Linked DNA regions of Homo sapiens: all the other regions are linked to region 1. The links are contacts of gene promoters, found by promoter capture Hi-C in blood cells and fetal thymus (Javierre and others, 2016). All regions are on one chromosome and are shown on one strand. The core of a region is centred on a gene start or on the middle of the fragment in contact, and the rest is flanking DNA. Distances in the headings are between cores, read along the strand shown. Region 1 holds the start of PPP1R12A (protein phosphatase 1 regulatory subunit 12A). Region 2 overlaps SYT1 (synaptotagmin 1). Region 3 overlaps LIN7A (lin-7 cell polarity scaffold A).

Region 1 (4,688 bases), core at 1,654-4,153:
CTATTAAATCAGTGATTTTAGTTTTTACAATTAAGTATGGAAAACAAGCTAAGTTCAAGAGATTTCTTAAAGGCTTAAAATTTTCTTGTGTGTGTGTGGTTTTTAATTTTATTTATTGTCTTTCACTAACTGTTGTCCTAAATTTGCCCAAAGTGAACTCCCTGTTTTCATAGTAACAATGGGAAAAAAGTACAAGAGTTGATAAATAAGAAATGAGAGTGAAGAAAACATAACACAAATTTTTAATGCTTGATATTTTAAAGACTTTGGCTTCACCGATTTAAGGCATTTGCAGATATGGAAAAATGTTATGGAAAAGGGGAGGCGGTTGGAGATTATCGGGTCAAACCCACACTCACAGTGACAAAAAGTGACAGAAAGATATTACGCAAATGGAGTAAATTTAGAAACTTCTGTTTGTCAACTAAAACAAAATACCCAATAAAGATATATCTACACAACACCAAACTGACCACTGAATTCAGTTAATCAGGAAGACATTGGTAAGTCTGACAATTCTTGTAACGTGTGAATATTGAGAGGAGAAAAAAAGATCTTAAGAAGGCAGTTAAATGTATTTTCTCTTCCTCCCTAAACCAGTATCACAATAATGTAAATATCAAAACTTTTCGTCTTCCTCTAAGCCAATACAACTGGGTTCCTCCACAACAATAGTAACTTTAAATTTCTATTTGACAATTTGAATAAAACATATTGATGCGAACCATTATCCAATTATCCTGACCTCCTACAGTAATAATCGTCTTTCAAAATCTGTTTCACACTAAAACGTGTAAAGTACACTTGAAAGAAATTTGAAGATTCATCTTATATAATTACATTATCATTTTTAATGCCAAAAGTTTCCTTCATTCTCAACACCATGGTTTTAAAATTTTACGAGTTATGATATGCCTTAAATAAACTTCACCCAAATAAAAAGTTTGCTATGCATTAGAGAATCTAAATTAATGAAATTGAGAAAGCGCTAGACACCCTGCTATATTTTTACTGGGTGCCACATTTTTAATTCCATATTTGTCCTGCAATGTGTCAATCATTTCAATATATCCAGTCAACTTTGTAAACAAAGGCTATACTCCAAGTCTGATAAGAGAATTCCATTACACAAAATTTAAAATGGTCATCACTCCCTTAAACAGTAAGCAGGACAAGGAAAAATGTCACTACACACCTTTTTTTTAAAAGGCATCAAGTTAATATTCATGAAATATAAAGCCTTGAGTTTCAACCTCCCAAACAAGTTTTTACTACAACATTATTCAAAATAAGGCTATGCATCTTCCACACACAACCAAGGCAACTTTGAGATAGCTTACAAGTCTTTTCATTGTTAAGGGGAAGCTATCGCTGCAAAGTCATTTTCTATTACAGTTATTCCAAGTTGCCCGCTAAGAAAATAGAAAAAGCCTATGTTTTGTCACCTATTACCGTCACTTAAAAATTGCTTTTTATGCATAACTCTACGTGGTTGTGTTGCTTTTGGCCTGTTAAAGGCAAGGCAACATTATCTCTGGATTGCCAATAGTTTCTCCTTATTTGGCTAACATTGAGAGATCCCAATCAGACTACTATAAAACTTTAATATGCACAAAGCATCCATTTTGAGAAAAGTTTGTGACCAGCTTTCTTTTTTCCCAACCCCAAAAGAAAAACCAGAGCTTGGTAACCGGCTTTGAAAAGAGTGTCCCCTATTTATTCTTCTCTTTCTAACACCAGTGCACACCCGAGGACCTGGGGCTCAAGGATCTCTGACACTGCGGCAAACTTCGAGTATCAGACTCAACACGTTCCGGTCCGGAGGTGGGCAAGCCCTTTAGAGGGCTTCCTTACTCTACCCACTTCCATCCCCTTCCTTTCAGCCGGTGCAGATCAGCTAATTACACCCTGTTTTCCCCTCCCCAGTGACCAAGAGTAATAAATGAGAAAACAGGAAATCGTTCGTTCAGGGCACTCGGCTTAGGGCTCTAGATTACTATTATTATCATCATTTGTAATCAAGTCCTAAAAAGTGCAACAAATCCAATGCCCACCTACAAGTCAAAGATGTTCATCTGCCTAACCGTCCGTAATGCCCCTTGTTAGTTTTCTTCCTTCAGCATCCACCCCTCCGAATATACCACTGACACCGGGGCCCAGGCACAACCCCACTACACCCCTCCTTGTCTCGACCCCAAATCCCAGACTTATCCACGAATGGCCCTGGGGCCCCAAACGACCACAGTTCCTTTTCCCCTATGCCCCGGAAATCACCCGGTTCCCAACTCCACCAGCAACTGTTCTGAAGGGGGGCCTCAAGCCCAGCGCCCTCCCTTCCACCAGCTCTCCCTCCCGCCCTCTGGGGAAACCGCCCCCTCACCCCGCAGCAGGGAGTCTCCCGCCGCCCCCAGCCTCAAGAGGTGGAGAACTGAGGGCAGGCCCGAGCAGGAGGCCGACGAGAACCCTCACGGTCAGGAGAGCCGGCGGCGGGGCGCACAGACCTGGTGCAGGGCAGTGAGTCCGTCCACATTGGCGTAATTGATGTCGGCGCCGCGGTGCAGCAGCTTGAGGACCTCGTCCGTGTCGCCGCTGGAGCAAGCAGCCAGGAAGACGGCGCCATCGTCGAACTTCACCTTGGTCTTCTGGCGCTTCACCACCGGAGGCTCGAGGTCCGTCTCGGAGCCGATCCAGCGTTTCAGCTGCTCGTTCCGCTTCTGCTTCGCGTCCGCCATCTTCATCCCCTCTCCTGCCGCCGGGTCTTCTTATCGCGAGGGGGGGAAGGGGGAGGCGGAGAGGGAAGAGAGGGGAGGCAGGGGGTGTGTGAATGTTTCTATGAGTGCGGGCCAGAGGAGGGCTGGGAACCCGGAGCCGACGCTCGAGACTTCCAGTATCCCACAGAGCACTGGGGCGGCGCACCCGGCCGAGCGGACCTCCCTTCCTACCACAGAAGCCCTCCCGCCCCCAGCACGGCCACCCGTCACCGGCGGCCAATCTAACGTAACTTCGCGAGATCCGGACTGGGAGGCGCCCTTCGACCAGTGCGCATGCGCCCTGGGCCTGTGCCCGCCCCAGGAAGAGCGCTCCCGCGAACTGCGGCGGTGGTGGCTGGGCCACCAGAGGGAAGCGGGTGTGGCCCAGGCAGCGGGGGCTGGGACAGACCTGGAAAGGAGGAAGCGGGGAAGGAAGGTTGTCCTGTCGGGCTGGGGGCTCCCGGGAATCCGGAGGCCAGCAGTGGAACCGCAAGGCTCTACAGGGCAGATCTGCCTCCCGTGCTGTCTCAGCTACGCCGAGTCGTTGGCTCAGGGCGGAGGATTTTCCTATTGGCCGCGTTATTTGAATGGAATGGAGGATAGGTCGTGAAGTAGGTGCTGCTGGTTGATCTTTCTAAGGAACTCAGATGAACTTGGGCATGTCAGAATTAATAACCTTTTAAAAGTGGGGTCTGTGTGGCCGAGGGTTTTAATGGTAAGTTCTTGAGGTGACCACCTATTGACAAGGGTTGACCTGCTGTAATTGCTGTGGCTTCCTGCCAACCCCCACTTTAGAAATGTTTTTCTTCCTCTCTTTACTTGTTTTGTTTTGCTTTCTCTCACGCTTGGGTTCTCTTCTTTCTTCCTTCAGTGCTTTAAGCCTGTCTCGTACTACCCATGAGCTTAGCTCAGCCTGATTACTGGTCCTTACCTTTTAAGGGATTTCTGGTTACAGCTCCATCTCTTTCTAAGGAGGGGTAAAGACCTAGCTGCGTCTAGCATTTAAACGGAACGTTAAGGAAGGCAATTAATTCAACCACTATTTATTGAATACCTACTATGAGCCAGTAACTGTACTAGGCACTGAAGATACAATGAAAAATATGACATTTATTTGAACCACCTCTTGAGTTCAGTCGCCCAAACAAGACTAATTTATCATCGTCATAAAAAAAAGACTTTAACTTTGCCTTGTATGACCACACGCGCACACACATAGGATTTGTAATACTGATGTCTTATGAGCCATCTATCTACAATCTCCACCAATTGATTTTACTGAACACTGCATTGTTACCATCCACTACTATTTTTAGAGCATTTAGAAAAGCCAAGATAAAAACCACAAAACCTTACCATGGAAGTTTAGGGGTCATCTAGACAGAGTCCCTCAAGAACTAATTAATTTACTTAATTTTACCCAGAAGTAGGATTAGAATTCACTCAGCAAATACTATGCACCTGTTCTGGGTCAGGCATTGTTCTAGGTGCTGGAGATAGAGCAGTGAACAAATAAGCTTTTCTTACTCTCAGCATGATGCCTTTTCCAGTGGACTACTTCACAGCCTATCATATTGAGAAATAAAATAATTGAGTAAAACGTGATTAGGAAACTGTCTGCCTGTGAGACAATTTTCTGAACCACAGTTATTAGGATAGCGATAGAATCCAGGTCAGGGTAAAAATATTTCCTCTGAAAACGTTGTAGGAATAGAAAATGAATGTAATATTCATAAGATATACCATTGTATGTTCATTACATACATTAAAGATAACATCAGACCTTTGAATACTCATGGTGTTAGGTACTGAAAAACATTGTTAGCACTAAAATACAAAATCCCTATCCACAGAATACAGCTCTCAGAATAAAAGAAAGGAACTTGAGGATTGCCTTGTCAGCTCCTGTCTCTACCTAGGCAACTGACAGCATATCCT
Region 2 (4,564 bases), core at 1,847-4,346, 520 kb before region 1:
CTGGAAAGTTTTCTGGTAACTGCCACACACTCACAGACTTTTTTCAAAATTTGAAAAAAGGTATGTCTAAATTTTAAAGTATTGCAGTATCAGTTTGGTATTATGGTAGAGGATTTATAAGCCATGCAACTGCACAAAATTTTTGATATCGTTAATAAGGCAAAGATATATTACTTCGCTTTGTTCTGCTTGTGACCTAGAGTGAATTTTATTCATAGCAAAATTAGACCTTACTAGCTTCTTATACCTGAATGGCCTAGAGGTAGAGAAATTTCCAGAACAGCCTTATTAGAGAGTGGGGTGCATGACAAGACCATAATCTAAAGCCAGTTTTCAGTTTTATTATTTACTTTGCTGCCTTGATCATTTTTCTGCACTCATTTGGCTTGAAGGCATAGACATTCCCTGTTGATTATCTCGGCTTGGCAGTGGGTTTCTGCTACACATTTTGATTCCTAATATGGTAGTAGGAGAGGATTTTGTATGAGTTCCAGCGAGTTTCTCTGGGCTTGTGGAATGCAGCAAGGAAAGAATCCTACAGAGATGAAAACATGAACATTTGCATTGATTAAAGAGAAAAAGGAAAGAAAGAAAAAGTATCACTCTAAACTGTTTTTTTTCCTTTTCTTACTCTGTTCACTTCACTTCTAATAATGTCTTACACTTTTGGGGGTGGGAGGAATTAATGCTGTGTGTTCTTTTATTGCTCATATCTTCATGGCCATTTCAAAAATTATTTTGAAATGCTGAGTGTGTTTACAGAGGCAGTGTTAACAAAATAGTTTTCATCATCATCAAGGTTTGAATCCCTGAAGCACCCTATCCCTCTGTTCTACAAATTAGCCACATGAAGAAAACTGAGAGAATAAGTTTCATGTTGCTAAAAGAGAATAATAGGCTGATCATGTATATTCACAGGGTACAAATTACATTGTCTTAATTTTGCAGCAATATGAACTATTACTAAAGAAATACCTTACTTGCCTATCCATCTATTGATTGTGTTGGAGTTCAATACAGTTTTTCTCTCAGGGTCATAAAGCCATTCACAGAATCAGGGGTGTTCAAGGGCGAGAATTCAGTCATGGGTTCTTAGTTTGTGTTTCTGGTTGGGCCAGTAAAGCCCCTTCCTCATCTCTCTTTTCCACTTATCACTACAGATGCAGACTTAAAACCATGGCTTCAGGCTGTTCAAAGTCAAAAAAAAAAAAAAAAAAAAAACAGAACGACAATAATAACAACAAAATAAAGCAGGTTATACAAGCTCGTATGCATCTCAGATGAAGAACTTTCCTCTAGTAATAGGCTCCTTTTCCCTAAATGTATTTACTGAAGGCCTCTGTATTTTAATAAGCTATATTTTCACTGGTTTTAAAACTTCATTATTTTCACCATTATTCACATCCATTTAATGTGTTACTTTTCTATAATTAAGCATTACATTTGGCAGTTATGCCCTCAAAACTGACTATATCAACATTTAAGGTCATGTATTTGTAGGCTTATTGGGGGCTGTATCAAAAAAAAGTCACTAATGAGAGATCATCTACAAATCCAAGAAATTCAGCATGCTAGTGTAGATGTGAAAGTGTGGTTTTCATAATGCTCCAAATATTTTCTTTTTCTGGATAACTTATTTTAAGGAGCCCTTCAGTAAACAGTTCTGATTTGACAGCAATAACCAACCACAAACACAATTAGTCAGTATATTAGATAAGCCCGAGATTGGTTGAAGAATAATGCAAACCTCAAAATAACAATGATGTAAATGACATAGAAATTTATTTCTCTGGAATATGAAATAATGTAAAGATAAGCAGTCCAAAGCTGACATGGGGTCTTCATCTATCACAAGGAACCTAAGCTGCCGTCTTTCTCTTCTGCCGTCCTCAGCATATGGCTTTCATGCCATGGACCTGTGTGGCACATGAGGCTCCAGACAATGAAGAGAAAAAGGGAAAAATAAGTGTGAACCTATGTCCTTTACTGAAAGTCCCACATAGTACTTCCACTTACATCTCGATGGTCATGAATCTAGTCTTGACCACCTGCAAGGGAAGCTGGGAAATGTAGTCTTTTATTGTAGGTGGCAATGTGCCCAGCTAAAAATTAGGGTGCTAAAACTAAGGGAAGGAGGTGAAATGGGTACTGAAGGAGGCAACACCTAGTTTTGGTCATGGTCAGGTTCTCTGGCTCCTTGACTTGCTATCATTGTCAGATCATACAGTGACTTAGCTTTCCATGCATATTCATATTTATTTATATAAATCAAACCTTTTGTGTTTTACTAACATAAATATAAATATTTGAAACAAACATAAATATATGTGTTTACATAGAAATATATATGTAATTGTAGAAATTTTGAAATGTAGATAATTAGAAAAAAGTGCTAAGCAATCATAAAACTCACCACCCAGAAATAAGTGCAGTTAATTTTATGGTACATTTTTCCAGGTTGATTTTCATATACACATGTGTATCTATATACTTCTCTTAATACAATTGAAACATACAAAGCACATCATTTTTAACCTCTTTTTTTTTTAGCAATGATATATTGAGGCGTCCTTCTGCACCAATATTCTTTTCAACATTGTTTTAAATTGCTATAGATCATTTCATGATATCATTCCACAATTTAACCAACGTCCTATTGTTGGCATGGCGAGTCTGTACAGGTCTGAAATGTTACAGTAGATAGCTAGTCAGACATGAACAGGGCAGTAGAAAGTTTATTAAAAAGCTTTAGAGCAGAAAGAAGTAAAGTACACTTGGAAGAGGGCCACACAGGTGACTTGAGAGATCAAGTCCACAGTTTGACCTTTTGATTTGGGGTTTTATACACTGGCATGCTTCCTGGGTCTTGTGTCCCTTCTGCCATGATTCTTCCCTTGGGGTGGGCTGTCCGCATGCACAGTGGCCCGCCAGTGCTTAGGAGGAGCCAGCCACATGCAGAGTGTGTTTACTGGAGTTGTATGCATGCTTACTTGGGGCACTCTTCCCTTACCAGTCAAGTGTCCCTATAAGGTAATATACCAGTTAAACTCCACCATCTTGCCTCTTAGTTTGCATGCTTCAGCCCATTCGCCCAACTCCTGAGATCTTATCAGGAAGCTGATCACTAGTCTCAGGTTTTTCTATGTATTGGGAGACTACTTTCCCTGGGGCTGGCTGCAACCAATTATTATTTTAGAGAGTCAGTTAATAATTGCCTGACCATCATCTGATGGTTGCCTGACATTCCTGGGTGGGGGACGGGACGATGGTCTCTCCTGTCCTGCTCATGTCTGACCAGCCACCTACTGTAACACTATTGTTAATCATTTTGAGTTTTTCTGTATTATAAACCACACTGCAATTAACATCTTTGTTACTAAATCTTTGTTCATATCCACAATTACTTTTAGAAGATAGTTTTTCTGATCAAATAATATGCATATCTTAAAGCTTTGATATGCCAAATTCCTCTCCAGAAAAATTAACGTTTTACATTGTTACCCTACTATCTGAGTATATGCCAATACTTTTGCTCAGCAATAAACATCATATAATTTTTTTAAATTCTTTACCGATTCAATAGACCAAAACATCAGCCTCAGGTTAACTATGCCTTTGATCACTACTGAAGTGGAACATTTCCCCTGCCTTTATATTTAGCCTTTTTTATTATTGTGGAAAGATATGAGAGGAGAGAAAGAAGCTCATGGGCTCAAATTTGGAAACACTAACTTCAGACTGAAAGGAAAAAGCCTCTGGTTCTGAAGATAAGTCATGTATGCTAACTCAGAATGGCAACATAAAAGGAGAGGTTATCCTTCCATTTCAAGAGGCAGTCAATGAAGTTGTCACCTGACCTCTTCCAATAAGGTACCCAGATATTTTCCTCCTTTGAAGAAAGAAGCCACCATGATCTTGGCTCGCATTGTGTTGAGTTTGAAGGACACTGCTTCATATGTGATTTATGGGTTTTCTCCCAGCACAGTTTTTCCCTTGACTTGACTGTCAAGCTCTTGTCTCTGTAGAGTGGCAAGTGAAAATATTCCAAGGGGCTCAAATTTAATTCAAGTAGTCAATAAACCACAAGATCTGTCTGCTCAACTATTTTCATACCAAATAGGATACTCCCCATCTAAATGTGTAACTGAGCTGAAAACAACTTTGTGCCTTTAAATATCTGATGTTGTGTCATGTTTCACTACATTTAAAGCCAATACAGTAAGTAGCCAGATCACAATATGCCAAATAGCTGTTTGTAGCATTTCCTGATATTTGCTAAGTAGAGAATTTCAAATACCCTAGGCACATTCTATTTGTGAATGGGATGATATATTTTCTTGCTTCTGTGTTGTATAAAATACTCTGGAGTAGTTAATTCTTTGCAAGTTTTTAAACCTTTCCTCATGGTCAAAAGCTAAATCATAAATCAAGAATTAATGTAAGAGAAAGTTTGAATACTCTCTCTTAATTCCCAGTTAGATTATCAGGACAAAACTTCAGGTAATTGCATGCCTAAATAGTAAGGTACAAATAAAAACAGGAAGAAAAAAATAATCCTCTAACA
Region 3 (4,672 bases), core at 531-3,030, 990 kb after region 1:
TATTTAGATCCCAAACTAGGTAATGCAGTTTGGCTTATGGGCATAATGCAACTCTAATGTCTCACCTCCAGTTCTGTATTGACCTCAGGCATAGGGCTGTCTGGGACCCCTTGCTCCCTTTTCATCTCCCTTCATCTACTCTTACTAAAGTATCAGCTCACACCTCTCCATTCCAGCTTTCAATTTCCCTTTCCCTTTAATTTCAGACACTTGGAGATTCTACTCCCTCATTTTCAATCTAAGCTATAGTTTTTTAATTGTTAAATTTTATCTGGCACATCTTGATATTTGTAATGGAAGAGTTTCTGTGTTGGCTCAGTCTACCATATTAGAGACTCACTTAAAATTCATCTCTAAATTGGATTTTAATTTGAAATATGAGCAAGAACAGAAAAATAGTTTGCATAAGCAAATACAGTCATGGACTACATAACATTTCAGTCAATGAGGAGCTGCATATATGATAATGATCTCATAAGATTATGATACTGTATTTGCACTGTACCTTTTCTATATTCAGATACACAAACACTTATCGTTGTGTCACAACTGCCCACAGTATTCTGTGCAGTCACAGCCTGTACAGGTTTGTAACCTAGGAGCAATAGGCTATACCAAACAGCCTAGGTGTGTAATAGGCTATACTATCTAGGTTTTTATAAGTACACTCTATGACATTCCCACAATAAAATCACCTAATGCTTCTTTTCTCATAGAATGTATTTCCATCGTTAAGGAATGCATGCCGGTAGTTGCTGAGATGTACAAATAAGCACCAAAAATTAACCACGCTACAAAAGTGCTTTCTAAGTCTGTCTTCCCATCTGGGAACACAGTTTCTTACTCTGCTAGGTGAGAATAACTTATAGTTCATATTGTATGAGTTAACGTTGCAAAACAGTAGTAGTAAAAGGGTGTAAAACCCCTCTAAGAGGAGTTGGAAAGTGAACACAGGCTCCCTGACCTGTGGGAGAGCTTGGGAAGAAGAGACAGTGAGTACTATTCCAAATAAGTGAGAAAAATCCAGCTAAAATGTTTAACAAATTCAGGAAGGGCCAACTGTGAGCAGGGATGAGTATATAACCTTTGAGAGTGGCAAGCACTCACTGATTTTTTTCCACAAACTTCCACCGGGTGCTTCCTAGAAAGAACAGATCAGGGTGGAAAACAAGAGGTGTAGACCCATTACAACGGGGAGAAGGATAAAAGCCAAAAACCCTCTATCCCAGGAATGGGGTGGGAAAGAGAGGGCAGGAAACAGTCCTAGTCCTGAAATCCTTTGATAGTATATGTATATTGTTATAGATTTCCTACCACTGGAAAGGGGCAGGGAACTCTCCCACACAAGACTCTCCATAGACAGAAGGCTGAATTTAGTCTGGCAGACCAAAGAAAGGCAGGATCCTGAGAAAGCCCTATGCTTGAGACCCAGACACACAGAGGCTTCCTAAGACTGAGGCTGGACCAGGACAACAGAGAAACACCTTCGTCTCCACCACCAAGCTCATTCACTATCAAGTCACAAGCAATTGCAGTCTACCCCTGGGGGAAGGTAGAGGGCAAAGAGACAGAATCTCTCGGTGACACATGTGCACAGTGGAGCACCTCAAATGGTTAAGTTGAAAGTCAATATAAAATACAACTTCTCTTTTTATTTTTCTTCAATGCTTTATAAGCAGAGGTTGAAAAGTATTAGGCCCATATAGTAAATAGTTCACAGACCAGTCTCCGTCCCAACTATTCAACTCTGCAGCCGTAGCAGGAAAGCAGCCAGTAGACAATTTGTGAGTAAATGAGCGTGGCGGTGCTCCAATAAACTTCACTTATGGATGCTGAAATTTGAATTTAATATGATATCCATGTGTCACAAAATATTCTTCTTTCATGTTTTTCAACTATTTAAATATGTAAAAGCCATTTTTAAGTCTCAAGATATATTTGATATCAGGGCTGTAGTTTGTGACCTCTGGGTTAAGGTAAAATTGGTAGCAATAATTATGGGTTTATAGATACAACAATAGCACCAAAGATGGAAGGGAGCAATGGGAAGTATATTGTTGGTTGTAAGTGATATTATTAAGGAAGACTGTGTTAAATTAAGGATATATACTCTAAACCCTAGGGCCAACATTACAAACAATACAAAAAAGACAGAGCAAAATAGGCAAAGGCTCACATCAACGTTAGATCATTAAAGTATTATTTGAATATAAGCCAATTGATTAGAGCTCCATCACATTTGGAAAATTTACAGTTTACAAAGAGAAAATCTCATCTTTAAACATATTCAGGAGAAACTTTAAAAATATGCATAATTAAATTATATTCTTTAAAGCTCTGAAAATAATGGAGAGTGATCCAAGAGAAGTTTTGAAAACTTGTTAGTACATGAAAGACAGAGATTTCTTAAGGCAGAGAAGAAAAATAAAACTAAGCAAAAAACAGGAATACCTTAATATGTACCATATTAAGTTGTAATATTGGCCAGATAATGCTATCTAGTTCTAATATCCATGTACATCTATCTGGCCTATGGCTAAACTGTTCAGCTACTTAAGACAGAGGATTGCTGAGGCCAAGATCATGTAATGATTGCTACGCTCTCTTAGCTCCAGCTGTGGTATGGCCTGAATGTGTCCCTCCAAAATGCCTATGCTGAAGCCTAATCACCAATGTGATGGTGTTAGAAGGTAAGGACTTTGAGATATGATTAAGTCAAGAGGGCGCTGGAGATTAGGCCTCAGAGAGCTGCCTTGCCCCTTCTACCACGTGAGGACACAGCAAGAAGGTGTCCTCTAAGAACCAGGAAAAACAGGCCCTAAACAGACATGGAATATGCTGGTACCTTGATTTTGGAATTCCCAGACTCCAGAACCATAAGAAATATATATCTGTAGTTTATAAGTGACCTAGTCTATGGTATTTTATTATAGCAGCCCAAATAGACTAAAGCAGACTGCTGTAACAAAATGCCATACACTGAGTGGCTTAAGCAACTGATGTTTATTTCTCATAGTTTTGGAGGCTGGCACTTCCAAGATCAGAGTGCCAGCAGATTCTACCTGACGAGGGTCTTCTTCTGGTTCTGAACAGCAGCCTTCTGGATCTGTCTTCACAAGTCAGAAGTGAGAGGGAGATCAAGTGAGCACAAAGGCGTTGGGGAGGGTGGGAGGGAGCATGCTCTGCTCTCCTCTTCTTAGAAGGCTAATAATCCCATCAGGGAGGCCCCACCCTTCTGACTTCATGGAAACCTAATTACCTCCTAAAAGCCCACCTCAAGTACCATCACATTAGGGGCTAGGGCTTCAACATATGCATTTTGGGGGGACAGAAATATTCAGCCTATAACATACACCCATCTTAACATTTTCCTATTGGTGGTTACCATGTGATGCCAAACTGGCAATATTTGAAAAATGTGTGACATCAGAAGAAATTAATGTCTGCCTGGTCACAGAATATTTCATTCATCCAGAGGCATGTATCTGTCAAACTCAGCTAAGTAGGATAGGTCTGAGAAGCCAGAAGGATGCAAATATTCCCTTTGAGTTCACAAAATAAGTATCTCAGAATTCCTTCAGTAATGTGCATTAAATTCTACTGCCTTATTTGTTTTATCTTCCACTGTTTACAAAAAGCCCATTTGCTAGAAAACATGCGCTGTAATGAAATAGGAAAGGAAATAAATCCTATGCTTAGGTTAAAAATGGTTAAAAATAAAATTTTGGCCTACAGGAGTAAACATCTGTTATCTGTAAGTTTACTTAGGTAGAACATCTTTTCCAGATAGAGTGCTAGAAAAATATAGCATTACTTGGTCCACTTAAAATCCGTATTAAAACCTCAAGGCATGTATTTTAATGATGTTGGATAAGAACAGTCTATGTCTTTTAGGACATTCACAAGTAACATTAAAGGGATGTCAAGATTCTCTCTTCATGACTGAAATTCAGGGCCTGCTACATTCCCAAATGCCTTTCTCTCCTTTCACTAGGAGGCAAAGACTATCAGGAAAGAAGACTTGGGGCACTATTACCACTTTTCACTCACTTTTGTGAGCCTATCAAAATTCCAGGTCCATATAAAGAAGTTTTGTCTGTGTATTACAGGCCACTGAAAGGTAACCTGAATGTCACAGTCATGATCTCTTGGTTCACTAGCACAGCCTGGGAAGAAGGATCAAAATATGCTGGTACTTTCTTATAATTTAATCTGAGATAGTTAATTTTAAGTGTCAATTTGACTGAATTAAAAGATACCCAGATACAGTAATCCCCCCTTATCCTCAGTTTCGATTTCTGTGGTTATGGTTACCTGCAGTCAATCTCTGTCCAAAAATATTAAATGGAAAATTCTAGAAATGAATGATTCATCTATTTTAAATTGTGCTTTGCTCTGAGTAGCACAATGAAACCCCTTGCCTTCCATCTCTGTCCGGGACATGAATCATCCCTTTGTCCTGTATACACTACCTGCCCATTACTGTATAAGAAAAACAGTATACAGAGGGTTCACTACTAACCTTGGCTTCAGGCAGCCCCCGGGGGTCTTGGCACATACCCCCTTGCATAAGTGGGGGGCACTACTGTAGTTGGTAAATCACTATTTCTTGTTATGTCTGTGAGGGTGTTTCTGGAAGAGACTGGAATTTGAGTCAGTGAACTGAGTAAAG

What was found. Contacts are between HindIII fragments. The CHiCAGO score rates a contact against its expected background, and 5 or more counts as called.
Region 2: a fragment that was not itself captured here is called in contact with the fragment with the promoter of PPP1R12A in region 1 in 1 of 17 cell types (endothelial precursors); the score reaches 5.4 in endothelial precursors.
Region 3: a fragment that was not itself captured here is called in contact with the fragment with the promoter of PPP1R12A in region 1 in 1 of 17 cell types (neutrophils); the score reaches 7.0 in neutrophils.

What each region holds. Positions count from the first base shown.
Region 1 is chr12:79,932,194-79,936,881 of GRCh38, forward strand. It overlaps PPP1R12A (protein phosphatase 1 regulatory subunit 12A), which reads right to left and starts at 2,904. Exons shown (of 25, transcript NM_002480.3): 1 at 2,502-2,904. The coding sequence starts at 2,738. PPP1R12A-AS1 (PPP1R12A antisense RNA 1) reads left to right here and starts at 3,088. Exons shown (of 2, transcript NR_146535.1): 1 at 3,088-3,361. RefSeq lists enhancers at 1,724-2,289, 2,090-2,149, 2,290-2,853, 2,490-2,789, 2,836-3,130 and 1 more and a silencer at 2,320-2,409. The HindIII fragment of the contact is 9,894 bases long and covers 1-4,265 here.
Region 2 is chr12:79,409,308-79,413,871 of GRCh38, forward strand. The region is part of intron 9 of SYT1 (synaptotagmin 1); the gene reads left to right. Among named protein-coding and RNA genes, the nearest start is that of MIR1252, 7.7 kb to the right of the region's middle. The HindIII fragment of the contact is 704 bases long and covers 2,745-3,448 here.
Region 3 is chr12:80,918,397-80,923,068 of GRCh38, forward strand. The region is part of intron 1 of LIN7A (lin-7 cell polarity scaffold A); the gene reads right to left. Among named protein-coding and RNA genes, the nearest start is that of MIR618, 15 kb to the right of the region's middle. The HindIII fragment of the contact is 7,230 bases long and covers 1-4,672 here.